Linked DNA regions of Homo sapiens: region 1 is linked to region 2. The links are contacts of gene promoters, found by promoter capture Hi-C in blood cells and fetal thymus (Javierre and others, 2016). All regions are on one chromosome and are shown on one strand. The core of a region is centred on a gene start or on the middle of the fragment in contact, and the rest is flanking DNA. Distances in the headings are between cores, read along the strand shown. Region 1 overlaps CSNK2A1 (casein kinase 2 alpha 1). Region 2 holds the start of RBCK1 (RANBP2-type and C3HC4-type zinc finger containing 1).

Region 1 (6,307 bases), core at 712-3,211, 72 kb before region 2:
TGTTGGAATTCTTTGGTGTAAATAAACGTTTGGTTTTATTTATCAAGGTTAGATTTAAGTTCCCTGTGTAAAGGTCTTGCTGGGTGGGTGTCTCATGTTCACATCTGAGGGGCCTGCAGCCCTGTACCGTGGAGGCTTCCCAAGGCCCCCATTTTATACACCCCTCGTTCGACCCATGGTACCGGGCAGAGCAGAGAGGCCTTAAAAAAAAAGCACCACAAGCCAAAGCGTCTCTGGGGATTAAGGATCCTTTGCCATAAAACTCATTTTGTGTCTCAGCAGTGCAGGGATTGGGGATGGAAAAAGTCGCCAGTTTTTGTGTGTTTGTGTGTGTGTGTAAAGTGGACTTTCCACTGTAATCCAACCACCTAAGTTTATCAGGTGCTTCACTGAGGAAGCCTAGTTTTTTAAGCACAATAGCAAAACCATCAGCTCTGTATTTTCTCCTGTTATTTCATTACAGTAGCTGCTTGTGGGAACTAGGAAAAATTCTTCCAACATATTTTAAGGCCTAAAATCTTAGTTCCCCATTCTCCTACCTTATAGATTCACAGGCCTTTCTCGCCTAGGCATCATAGATAAACGTAATTGTTTGGGGAGTTGAATTTAATGAACTTATCTAACTTTGTAACCCATCTTGGCTTTAGTAACTTTATCAAGGTGGTGGCTTTAGTGAATATAATGGTAAACTTTAGAGGACGCTAAAGCCTCCTTTTATAGCGCTTCTCAACGGTAGGGAGAGCTGAAGGGAAAACATTCTGACTGTGTGGCAGGGTGATTTTCTTCCTTATGACCACTTACAGTGGATATTTATTGTACTTGACCCTTTTATGCCCTAGAATGCTGTGAGGGTTACCATGTTGAATTTGTGCAGAAGCTAAAAGCACCAGATGTGCCAGAGATGCAATTTGTGATTATGTTTGCACTGGATTGTGATTTGAACAGGACACTTATAACTAATGAGTTCTTTCTTTTGAGGTGGGGAGAGGGTTGTAAATCAAGACTTCATACCCTATCCTTGTAGCTCGGAAATTGAGGTGTAGCTTAGGCTGATGCGGAGAGCTGCAGACAGCTGGACCTCCTTACACCCATCAGACCTTGGAATAAACCGAAGGTGAATGCAGAGGACTCTGAGGTGCCACCCAAGAGCCTTTTAAAATAAATAGAAGTTTTTAAAAATGCTACTTAAGAGTCACTGCAGAAGCATGGAGAGAGAGAAAAAAAAAAAAGACCCAATTGGGTGGGGGGTGGGGGGGAGGCAAGGGTTTACAGAGTAACAACTTACGTGTTGTTGTAAATTACCTCATCTGTATACCTTGTATTGGGACACTATTTCTCAGCACTACCTGTGTCTGCATTGCTTAGATGGCAGGAAATGGAATGGCCAACATGAAAGGTTATGTTGGCAATTACTCTGAAAGATTTTTTAAAGTATTTTTAAACTTTGTTTGAAGTGGTCCCTCCCCTCTTCCTCTGCTTTTTTTTAAGTTTGAAGCCAGAAGGCCCTCCCCACCTTGCTTTATTGGTTGTAATTGTATTGTAATTGGTATGACTAAACCATAACTGTGCTGGGAAGAAGTTGTGCCATGAAGGTCTTTAATTTTTTTTAATAAAAACATTTAAATAAATGAAATGTCCCTGCAGCCTGAGCAATATGCTTCTCCAACCGACACCGTGTGTGATAGATGGCTCCGTTTTCACGTTTTGAATTCTGTTTCTTGTACTTGAAATGCCTGTCCAGCTTACATAAGATAGATTAAATTGTTAGAGTGGGACTGTCAGAGGAATATATCTTGTAAAGTAGATCCTCAGGGTATGGCTAATTACTATAGTCCTAAAGTAGCAGAGAAAATTAGAGATTGGTTGACAGATTTGGGAATTTTAATTTCTTCTTAGTTTTTAACTTTCATCTTTGCTTCACCTTTTGACAAGTATGGTTATAATTAGAATTGACCATTTAAGCATCTCTTGAAAAACCTGATTTTGTCCCACCAGCAAATTCTCTCCCAAGACTGGAATTGGGTTTGCATAGTAGAGAGCCTGTCTTCCCAGGGCCTTTTCCTAGTTAAAGAAACACTTAACTAAAAAGGCTGTGTGGTAAGGTCATGCTCAGTTCCTTCCTCAAAAAATGAGTCTAAAATTGGTTTATCCTGAATCCGACTTCCCCCACTGTCATCACTTACCCTTGCCCTTCTTTTTCCTCAGAACACCTGAACTTTTGTTGTATTATTTTGTATCTCCCCACTTGCATGTAAACTCCCTGGTGACCTTGCATGTCTTATGCAATCCTCATTAAAACCTTTTGTTTTTTTTTTTAAGTGGGTTCGTTTTCCCTCAGGATCGAAGAGTATTGAATGGAATGGCACGAGGAAAATATTTAACACCCTACTTGGCTTGTAATAATAGGTGCTTAATAAATTGTAGTTCCACTCTCCACTCCATTGCCCCCTTTCTCTCCCTACACACACACACCCACCCACCCACACACACACACACACACACACAAAGTAAATGGAAGTATTGTTGCATAAAGAGCATCTCAAAATCCTAAGAACTTTGCCCTTGAGTTTGCAGCTATAATTACAAGCCACAGGCCAGACTGAACTAACATGACAAGTAACTTTATTTAATGAGACCCTGATAAATAGGTATCTGAAGACTAAGGAATGATCCTGGCCAATTTAGTAGACTTAGATGCTGCAGTCTCCCTGCTTTTCCCCTGCTGTATTACCTGTGTGTAATATAGGTTGAATATCCCCTATCCAAAATGGTTGGGACCAGAAGTGTTTTGAATTTTTTTGGATTTTTGGAATATTTGCGGAATACATACCAGTTCAATATTCCTAATCTGAAATTTGAAATATTCCAAATAGCATTTACTTTAGGCATCATGTTGATGCTTAAAAAATTTCAGATTTTTGAGGATTTTGTATTTTCAAATTAGAAATGCTCAACGTGTAATACGAAATTCAGACTATTCTCCAAGTAAAACATATGTAGATGGTGTCACAAGATGTTCTGGACTCAATCCTATGTAAATAAGTACTTCCTAGACTTTATAGCTCTCCTTTGATTCTGTGCTAAATTTAACCATTAGAGAAGCAATGTAATGTTACTGCAAGTGGTCTACCTCTAACAGAGTTCTGTCTGGCAGTGTGATTTTTTTGATCAGTTAACCTCTCTGAATCTTTTCTTCACAGGTGATTTAAATTGTTATTGTAAAACATTTTAGGCATGTACCAAATTATAAAGAAAGCTGTAACACATCCATAATCCTACCACCCAAGTTGAATTTCCATTGCCAATACAGACCAAGCCCCCTTTTTGCCCTTTTTTGGTGATACCCTCTTCTTCCTCCCTTCCCCAGAGGTCCCAATATTTCCTATCTGTTAAATTGGGGTATAAGTACTGATTTCATAGAGCGGTTGTTCAGATTCTATGACAGATGCCTGGTATATGGTAGAGTTACACCAAATGTTGGTTTCTCTTCTAAATTGTACAGTTGTGCAGACTATGTACAGTAAAAGGATGCTACATTATAGGGAGGCCATAGATGTTTGCATTTGGAAAATTTCTGACTCTTTTCCAGCAGGTGGCAGTAAAGTGTCTTTACTAGAAGAAAAAATATCCAAGCATTAAACATGACAGGTTTTCAACGGGTACAAGTCAAGTTTCTGATTGAATGAAGGCCAGCATTGCCTTGTTCCCACTCCCTCTATGGAAAGCCAGATATTTTGCACTGTAGCAAATTACAAACTGGATTTGTCTCCCTGTCGCTCTACTCACTAGAAGTTTTTTGTTTGTTTTGTTTTTTGATACGGGTCTTGCTCTGTTACCCAGGCTAGAGTGCAGTAGCGCCATCACAGCTCACTGCAGCCTCAACCTCCCAGGCTCAGGTGATCCTCCCAACTCAGCCTTCCAGGGACTACAGGCACGAGCCATCATGCTTGGCTAATTTTTTTTTTTTTTTTTTTGGTAGAGATGAAGTTTTGCCGTGTTGCCCAGGCTGGTCTTGAACTCCTGAGCTCAACAGTCTACCCGCCTTGGCCTCCCAAAGTGCTGAGATTAGAGGCATGAGCCACCACACCTGGCCCACTAGGGATTCTTATTGGCCTCAATGTGAGAAGCCCTTCCCCAGGTACCTCCAGATGGAAGCTTACAGGATGGTCAGTCCATTTCTTAGAGAAGTTCCTGGGGGGATTGAGTATTTCTGAGTCAGCTTCACTCTTGCATCATCTGCTTTGACAGTTTTCTTGGCTCCTGTAATGAGAAAAAGGGAAAAAAATGCTGCAGCAGCTGGGGCTGGCTTCCTGATCCCACCCTGGGAATCAGAGTCTCAGCTATTGATAAACATTTCTAGCCATACCTAGAAGGAGAGGACCTTGCTTCTGTGTGTTGAACAGTTCCAAGAACTCCATGGTGAACTTCCTATGAAGAACCCTCCATAACCCTCAACCCTTCAAACCTGACGGTATACCTCATTTTGTTCTCCCGTCTCTGGCATTCCTCACCCACCCACGCTGACTGGTCTTTCCAAAGTTCATTTCTGTAATATAGGATGTCTTTGGTTTCAACAAACATTTGTAAGTGCCCCTGAGCCTGGTCTTTGCTATACACTGGGGATTGAGAGGTGAGACACAAGCCCATGGGGAAATGTATGTTAATTAGAAAAGTGAAAAAATTGTGTATATGGGATAATTCCAACTGTTTTAAAAAAAAAATCCTAGGAAAAATGCAAATGCCTATTTCAGAGAAAGAAATGGAAATCCCAAGGTGGCAAAAAGGAAGGCAGAATTCATCCTGAATGTAACTGGGGTTTTTTTGTTTTGTTTTGTTTTGTTTGTTTGTTTTGTTTTTGAGACAGGCATGGGATTACATGCACCACCACGCCCAGCTAATTTTGTATTTTTAGTAGAGACGGGGTTTCTCCATGTTGGTCAGGCTGGTCTCGAACTCCCGACCTCAGGTGATCCGCCCGCCCAAGCCTCCCAAAGTGGTGGGATTACAGGCGTGAGCCACTGCGCCCAGCCTAAGTGGGTATTAAAGTCAGTGCTTCCAAGACACTGGGTCTGGGTATAGGTGGGCCTCAGGCTATGGACTAGGGTTTGAATGCCCCCAGGGAGATAGGACACAGACTCCCGGGCTTTCTAAGATAGAAACTGAAACAATGCTGTGGCACTTGGAAAGGCTACAGGGGCAGGATTGAGGTGGTGGGGGTGGTAAAAACTAGAAGAATACTAGCTGTTGTTGCCTCTGGGTGATGAGGTTAAGATACCACGGAAGGCCCACACACCTGTGGTTGGAACACTTTGGGAGCCGGGAGTCCCAGACCAGCCTGGACAACATGGCGAAAACCCACCTCTACAAAAAATAGATTAGCTGAGTGTGGTGGTGTGCGCCTGTGTCCTAGCTACTGGGGAGGCCAAAGGACGAGAATTAATTGCCTGAGCCCAAGAAGTCAAGGCTGCAGTGAGGTGTGATTGTGCCACAGTACTCAAGCCCAAGTGACAGAGCAAGACCCTGTCTAAAAAGATTTTTTTAAAGTCACAGAAGCTGGGCGTGGTGGCTCATGCCTGTAATCTCAGCTCTTTGGGAGGCTGAGGCAGGAGGATTGCTTGAGGCCACGAGTTGGAGACCAGCCTGGGCAACATAGGGAGACCCTGTCTCTACCAAAATTAAAAATTAGCTGGATGTGGTGGCACATGCCTGTAGTGCTAGCTACTCTGGAGGCTGAGGCAGGAGGATCACTTGAGCCCAGGGGTTCAAGGCTGCAGTGAGCTATGATAGTGCCACTGCACCCCAGACTGAGCAACAGAGTGAGACCCTGTCTGTAAAAGAAGTTGTTATTAATTGAAAAAAAGATTTAACAGGCTGGGTGCAGTGGCTCACACCTGTAATCTCAGCACTTTGAGAGGTGGAGGCGGGCGACTCACTTGAGCTCAGGAATTCAAGGCCGGTCTGGGAAACATGATGAAACCCTCTCTACAAAAAATACACAGATTAGCTGGGCATGGTGGTGCATGCCTGTAGTCCCAGCTACTTGGGAGGCTGAGATGGAGGAATCAATTGAGCCCAGGAGGTTGAGGCTGCAGTGAGCCATGATTTCACCACTGCACTCCAGCCTGTGCAACATAGGGAGACCCCGCCTCCAAAAAAAAAAGTAACAGAAAAACTCACTAGGTGCCGGGCATGGTGGCTCACGCCTGTAATCCAACACTTTGGGAGACCAAGGCGAGTGGATCACCTGAGGTCAGGAGTTTGAAACCAGACTGAACAACATGGTGACACCCTGTTTCTACTAAAAAAT
Region 2 (5,726 bases), core at 1,417-3,916:
ATTGATTGTGGCAATGGTTGCACAACCTTGAATATACTAAAAGCCATTGAACTGTATACTTTAAATGGTCGAACTGTAAGGATAAATAAATAAATAAAACTGTTTTAAGAAAAACCAAATGGGACCCACCAAGAGAACCAAAAATCAGAAACCATAAAACTATTGCCTTACTATCCAGTAATGAAAAAGCAGTCAAAAAATAACGATAGACACTAATGTTTATTATTGAGTGCATAACACGCCAGGCATTGTGCAAAGTGTTTCAGCATTGAGTTTAAGTCTCCTGGAGCACAGACCGACAGTATCCATTCTCTTCCCTTCCCTTACCAAGCGAACCCCTGAATTCTAGCTGAATATCTTGGCTATACAGTCTCCCCTCAAGCTGAACTGTAGCTGTGGGAATCAGTTCTGGTCCACAGGAATTAACGGAAGAAGTGTGTACAATTTTTGAGCTATGCTCTTTAGAAGAGTGTGGAGGGGTGTCTTTCTTCCCTTCCTCCTGTGATGTGATGGCTGGATGGAGCTGGAATGGCCATTTTGCACCATGAGGAATCTGGGAATGAATGGCAGAATGGTGAGAGAAACAATATGAGCCTCTGAGGACTGTCGGGAGCAGAACCTCCCTATCTGGACTCCCTGCCATCAAATTTGTTTACGTCACTGTTCCGTTTTCTTCTGTTGTATAAGGCCTAACATCCTAATACAGTACACCTCCTAACAACCCTATGAGATAGCTACTGTTACGGTCTGATTTTTAAAATGAGGACACACTGAGAGGTGAAGTGACCTGCTCTGTATTTCACAGTTGATTAATGACATAACTAGGGTTAGAAGCCAGGCCTCCTGAAGCCAGAACGTGCCATTAGGAAGAACTGTTCTACAGGCAAGAATATCCTGTCCTGCTGTCCCTTGGGTTCAGGCCAGCCATGCACTCCTCACCTGATGTCCTGCGTTGGGGAGACCTCAGGCTTCAGTTGCACACTCAGGGGCACCCGTTGCTCTGCCAGCCAGATGGCACACTTCATTGCCACCTGTTCATCCCCGCCCGCCACTGCTCGGGTGAGGCTCAGGGCCATTTCCTCTGCTGAAAGCCAGTACAGCAGGAGCCAGTTAGCACAGGGTTTATTTTCAGGAGCTGAGAGTAATGGGGTAGGAAAGGAGGCGATCCTTTGTGTGTGCTGCTTTCTCTGTCTTCCTGGTGAACTCCTACGTATCCTTCAGCACCCAGACTAAAAGTCCCTTTCTCCGGGAGGGGTTCTCTAATATTCCCCACTCCTCCTCACACTAGGCTCATTTGGTTGTTTGTCCTTCCCATTCCCAGGGTCCCTCATATTTCTATTCATTTATCCAACAAGCAGTTATTGAGCTTCTACTGTGTGCCACCCACTGTCCCAGGAACTGGAATCCCACAGAGATTTATAAACAGGGCCCCTCTCCTTATGGATCTCCCTGCCCAGTGGGGAGACAATGAACAAGTTTAACAAGAAAAAAAAAAAAAGTCAGATTGCGATCCTTGCTGGCAGGGAAATAAACAGGTTAAGGAGACCAGGGGAGGCCTCTGGGAGGGGGTAACACTGAAGCTAAGACCTGAAGGAGGAGAAGCTGCACGTGTCAAGCTCCAGTGGGGAAGAGTGGTCCAGGTGGAAGGAAGAGTAAGGGCCTTGGCCAAAAAATGGTTGGATGAGAACCGAAGGAAGCCAGTGGGGCTCCAGTAGAGTGAGCATGGCGGGGTGACTGAGGACAGATATCCTGTGGGCCACCCAGGGCCTCTGGGTTTTGTTTGGAGAACACAGAGGGGCATGGGAGGGTTTCCAGCAAGGCAGTGACTGACTTCCGTTCTACAACCCTAGGTGCAGGGGACAAGAGAAGAGGCAAGTACCCCTGCTTCTCAGGTCAACTGACGTCTGTCTCCCACCAGCCCAGGAGGTCTCCAAGTTCAATGCCCTGTGTCCTCTGCGAGTCCCCTAGCCCCATCTCAGCACAGAGCCAGCCCAAGGAGTTCTCAGGGCCCCAAGATGGCTCTGGAAGCCAGCAGGTACCAAAGGAGGAAACTGATGGGGAGGAGGGTAGAGGGAGGGCAGGCTAAAGCCCCCTCTCCAAGGCCCTTCTGGCCAGGGGCAAGGCCAGGTCCTGCGGGGCCCACTTCCCACCGGAAGTTCCCCAGCCACCTCCAGCCTGTGCCCACCTTTCTTGGTCTTCTCGTCCATCTGGCGTGGCTGTGCCCATCCCCCTGGGGGGGACCGTGCCTCCTGGGAAATGCTACCTCCGGGTCGCCTGGGAGAGGCGGGAGACCAGGAGCAACTCAGCCAGGCCGTGTGGCCTCCGGCGCGGCCCAAGCCCTGTGTGTGCCTCGCTGTCCCCGCGGCAGTCGGGAAGCATCACACTGCCCGGTGACCAGGCCGGGATCCTGCGTGGGGCGGTGAGAGGGCAGCGGGCGCCGAGACAGGTCCGCACTGGGCGCAGGAGGAAACGGGACCAGCCGAGGTGGGAAGAAGCGGGGAAAGGACGCCCGGACACCACCCAGCCGGGGCGTTCCAAGTCCCGGAGGACCCCCACTTGCGGGAGCGCCCCTGGCGTCCCGGGTTTCAAGGCAAAGCCCTCTCTCCTCCCGGGAGGCCCCAGTTCTTCGCAAGGGGAGCGGCTTCGGCGGAAGAGAAAGTGAAAGTGGCGGCCCCGGAAGTGGGGCGGGACTGGGAGGGGGGGCCGGAAAAATTGTCGCCTCATCCGGGACCTCCACTGCCCGGCTACCCGGCGGCGGCGGACGCCGAGTGCGGGGTCCCAGCGGTCCCGGCGCTCCTGTTTGGGGCGACCCCACCCCGTCCTCCGGGGCTGATCGCGGGTCCCCGGACTCCCGCCCGGGTCACCCTGCGGGCCGCATCGCAGAGCCGCGGGAAGGAGCTGGGCCGCAGGCGGGGTGGGCGGGGCCGGGGCGGGGCCGGGGGCGGGGCCGGGGGGGCCGGGGGCTGGGGGCGGGGCCGGGGTGGGCCGGGGGCCGGGGCCGGGGCCGGGGGCGGGGCCGGGGGCAGGAGCAGGAGCCTGAGCAGGAGTCGGCGCCGGAGCCGGGGCTGGAGGGCGGCGGGATCCACAGCGTCGAGCCGCTGGGGACGGGTTAGGAGCGCGCCCTGCGAGCCCGGCGCCTGCTCACCCAAGCCTCAGGCATACCTCGGGGCAGGCCCGGTCCTTGGCCCCGTTTGCACATGAATAAACGAAGGCTCTGTTTGTTGATGACCTGTCCAAGGCCACTCAGCCGAGGTTTGAATCCAGGCCTGGCAGGCTCAGGAACCCGCCCTTACCCAGATCCGACGCTGCCTCTCAGCGGTCACCGTCTGTCTTTTCGTTGAGCTATTGGTGAAGTTTGCATTCGTCTGCCTCATGCGCCGCTTTAATTTTTCTCCCGTTCCTCGTCCCATCGATCAGCAGATCCTGCGGGCTCCACTTGCAGAATCTCATCCCTCACCTCCTCCGGCCCCATCCCGCTCCAGCTCCATCAGTGCTCCATCATCTCAGGGGTCTTGAACCAGCCTCCTCCTGGGCCTCCTTGCTTCTCTTTTTGCCCCCTACCGTCCATTTCCACCTAGCTGCCGGAGAGTCCTGTTAAAATGTAAATCAAACCCATGCCACTCCCCGACCCAAGTACTCCCATCTCACTTAAAGCAAAATCCGAGATCTGTCCCAGGGCTCGCAAATTGCCTCCCGATCTCTGTCTTCGTAGCTGACTGCCCTGCCCCTGCCTCATTCCACTCAAGTCCCATTGACCTGCTGGGTCCTGGAGTAAGTCAGACACACTCCCGCCCTAAGGCCTTTGCACCTGCCATAACCCAAACGTCTGCATGGCTCCCTCCTTCCCTTTATTTTGGTCTTTACCCAAAAATCTTCCCTAGTTACTCCATCTGAAATTTCACAGACACACGTATCCAGCATTTCACATCCGCTTTCCTGGCTTCATTTTTTCTTCTCAGCATCTATTACTGTCTAACGGAGCATGTTTTACTTATTTATGTTATTCTGGGTCTGTTTTCCTCTCCTAGAGGGCAGGGACTTTGGTTTGTTTTGCTCACTGCTGTGTTCCTGGTGTCTAGAACAGTTCCAAACACATAATGGAGGCTCCATATGTTGAATGAAGGAATGAACCTCAGACCTTCATCTGGGATAATTTTTCTTTTGCCGGAAACACATCCCTTTAGACAATGTTTCTTAACTTTGGCTGTACATTTGAATGGCCTGGGGAAGCCTTTTTTTTTTTTTTTTTTTTTTTTGAGATGGAGTTTCACTCTTGTTGCCCAGGCTGGAGTGCAGTGGCGTGATCATGGCTCACTACAGCCTCCAACTCCTGGGCTCAGCTTCCCGAGTAGCTGCAAACCACGGGCACGTGCCACCACAGCTGGCTAATTTTTGTAGAGACAGGGTTTGGTCATGTTGCCCAGGCTGGTCTTGAACTCCTGGGCTCAAATGATCTGCCCACCTCGGCCTCCCAAAATGCTGGGAAATGGTTGCTGTTGAGATATCATCACCTGTCAATCTAACTGCTGTTCTTTTTATAAACAGCTTTATTGAGATATCATCACCTGTCAATCTAACTGCTGTTCTTTTTATAAACAGCTTTATTGAGATATAATTTATATGCCATAAAATCCACCCACCTAAAATATACAATTCAATAGTTTTTAGTAACATTTACAGAATTGTACACCCATCATCACAATCAAATTTTAGGACATTTTTGGCTGAGCATGGTGGCTCACACCTACAATCCCAGCACTTTGAGAGGCCGAGGTGGGCGGATCACTTGAGGTCAGGAGTTCGAGACCAGCCTGGCCAACATGGTGAAACCCTGTCTCTACTAAAAATACAAAAATTAGCCAGGTGTGGTGGCGGACATCTGTAATCCTAGCTACTGCAGAGCCTGAGGCATGAGAATGGCTTGAACCTGGGAGGCAGAGGTTGCAGTGAGCTGAGATCGCACCGTTGTACTCCAGCCTGCGTGATAGAGCGAGACTCTGTCTCAGACCAAAAAAAAAAAAAGAAAGAAAGAACATTCTTATCACCCCAAAATAGACCTGTACTCATTAGCAGACATTCCCTGTTTCCCATCCTCCAACTGACAGCACTAATATACTTTATGTCTCTATAGACTTTCCTCTTCTTGATATTTTATAGAAATTAGATCTTACTGATGGGCCACAGTGGCTCATGCCAGTAATCCCAGCACTTGGGGAGGCCAAGCCAGGTGGATCGCTTGAGCCCAGGAATTCAAGACCAGCCTGGGCAACATGGTGAAACCCCATCTCTACAAAAAATACAAAAATTAGCCGAGTGTGATGGCGTGCACCTGTAGAGCAGTGATCGTCCCACTGCACTCCAGCCTGGGTGACAGAGTGAGACCCTGTCTCAAAAAGAAAATTAGATTTTGACAATATGTGAACCTTTGTGACTGGCTTCTTTCACTTGGCATAACTTTGGGGTTTTTCTTGACATAACGTTTTTGAGGTTTATCCATGTTGTAGTACTGGTTTTTTGTTTGTTTTTTGTTGTTGTTGTTTTGGGGTTTTTTTGTTTTGTTTTGTTTTTTGTTTTTAGAATCTCTGATTCTTTTCCTCTGAGTGCTTTTAAGAGTTTTTTAAAAAAAATCTTTGGCTTTTTGCACTTTTACTATGATGTGTCTATGTGTAAAATTTATGGAGTTTCTTGAATCTGTGATTGGTGTCTGATTTCTGTCTCACTAATTC

Evidence for each region. Contacts are between HindIII fragments. The CHiCAGO score rates a contact against its expected background, and 5 or more counts as called.
Region 1: a fragment that was not itself captured here is called in contact with the fragment with the promoter of RBCK1 in region 2 in 1 of 17 cell types (activated CD4 T cells); the score reaches 5.7 in activated CD4 T cells.

Annotation. Positions count from the first base shown.
Region 1 is chr20:476,433-482,739 of GRCh38, reverse strand. CSNK2A1 (casein kinase 2 alpha 1) reads left to right here. Exons shown (of 14, transcript NM_177559.3): 14 at 1-6,307. Among named protein-coding and RNA genes, the nearest start is that of TBC1D20, 17 kb to the right of the region's middle. The HindIII fragment of the contact is 4,393 bases long and covers 1-4,157 here.
Region 2 is chr20:405,239-410,964 of GRCh38, reverse strand. It overlaps RBCK1 (RANBP2-type and C3HC4-type zinc finger containing 1), which reads right to left and starts at 2,666. Exons shown (of 12, transcript NM_031229.4): 1 at 2,186-2,666; 2 at 940-1,084. The coding sequence starts at 2,207. RefSeq lists enhancers at 1,689-1,758, 1,769-1,868, 1,929-2,028, 1,438-2,078, 2,079-2,128 and 1 more and silencers at 2,699-2,968, 4,792-4,948. The HindIII fragment of the contact is 13,745 bases long and covers 1-5,726 here.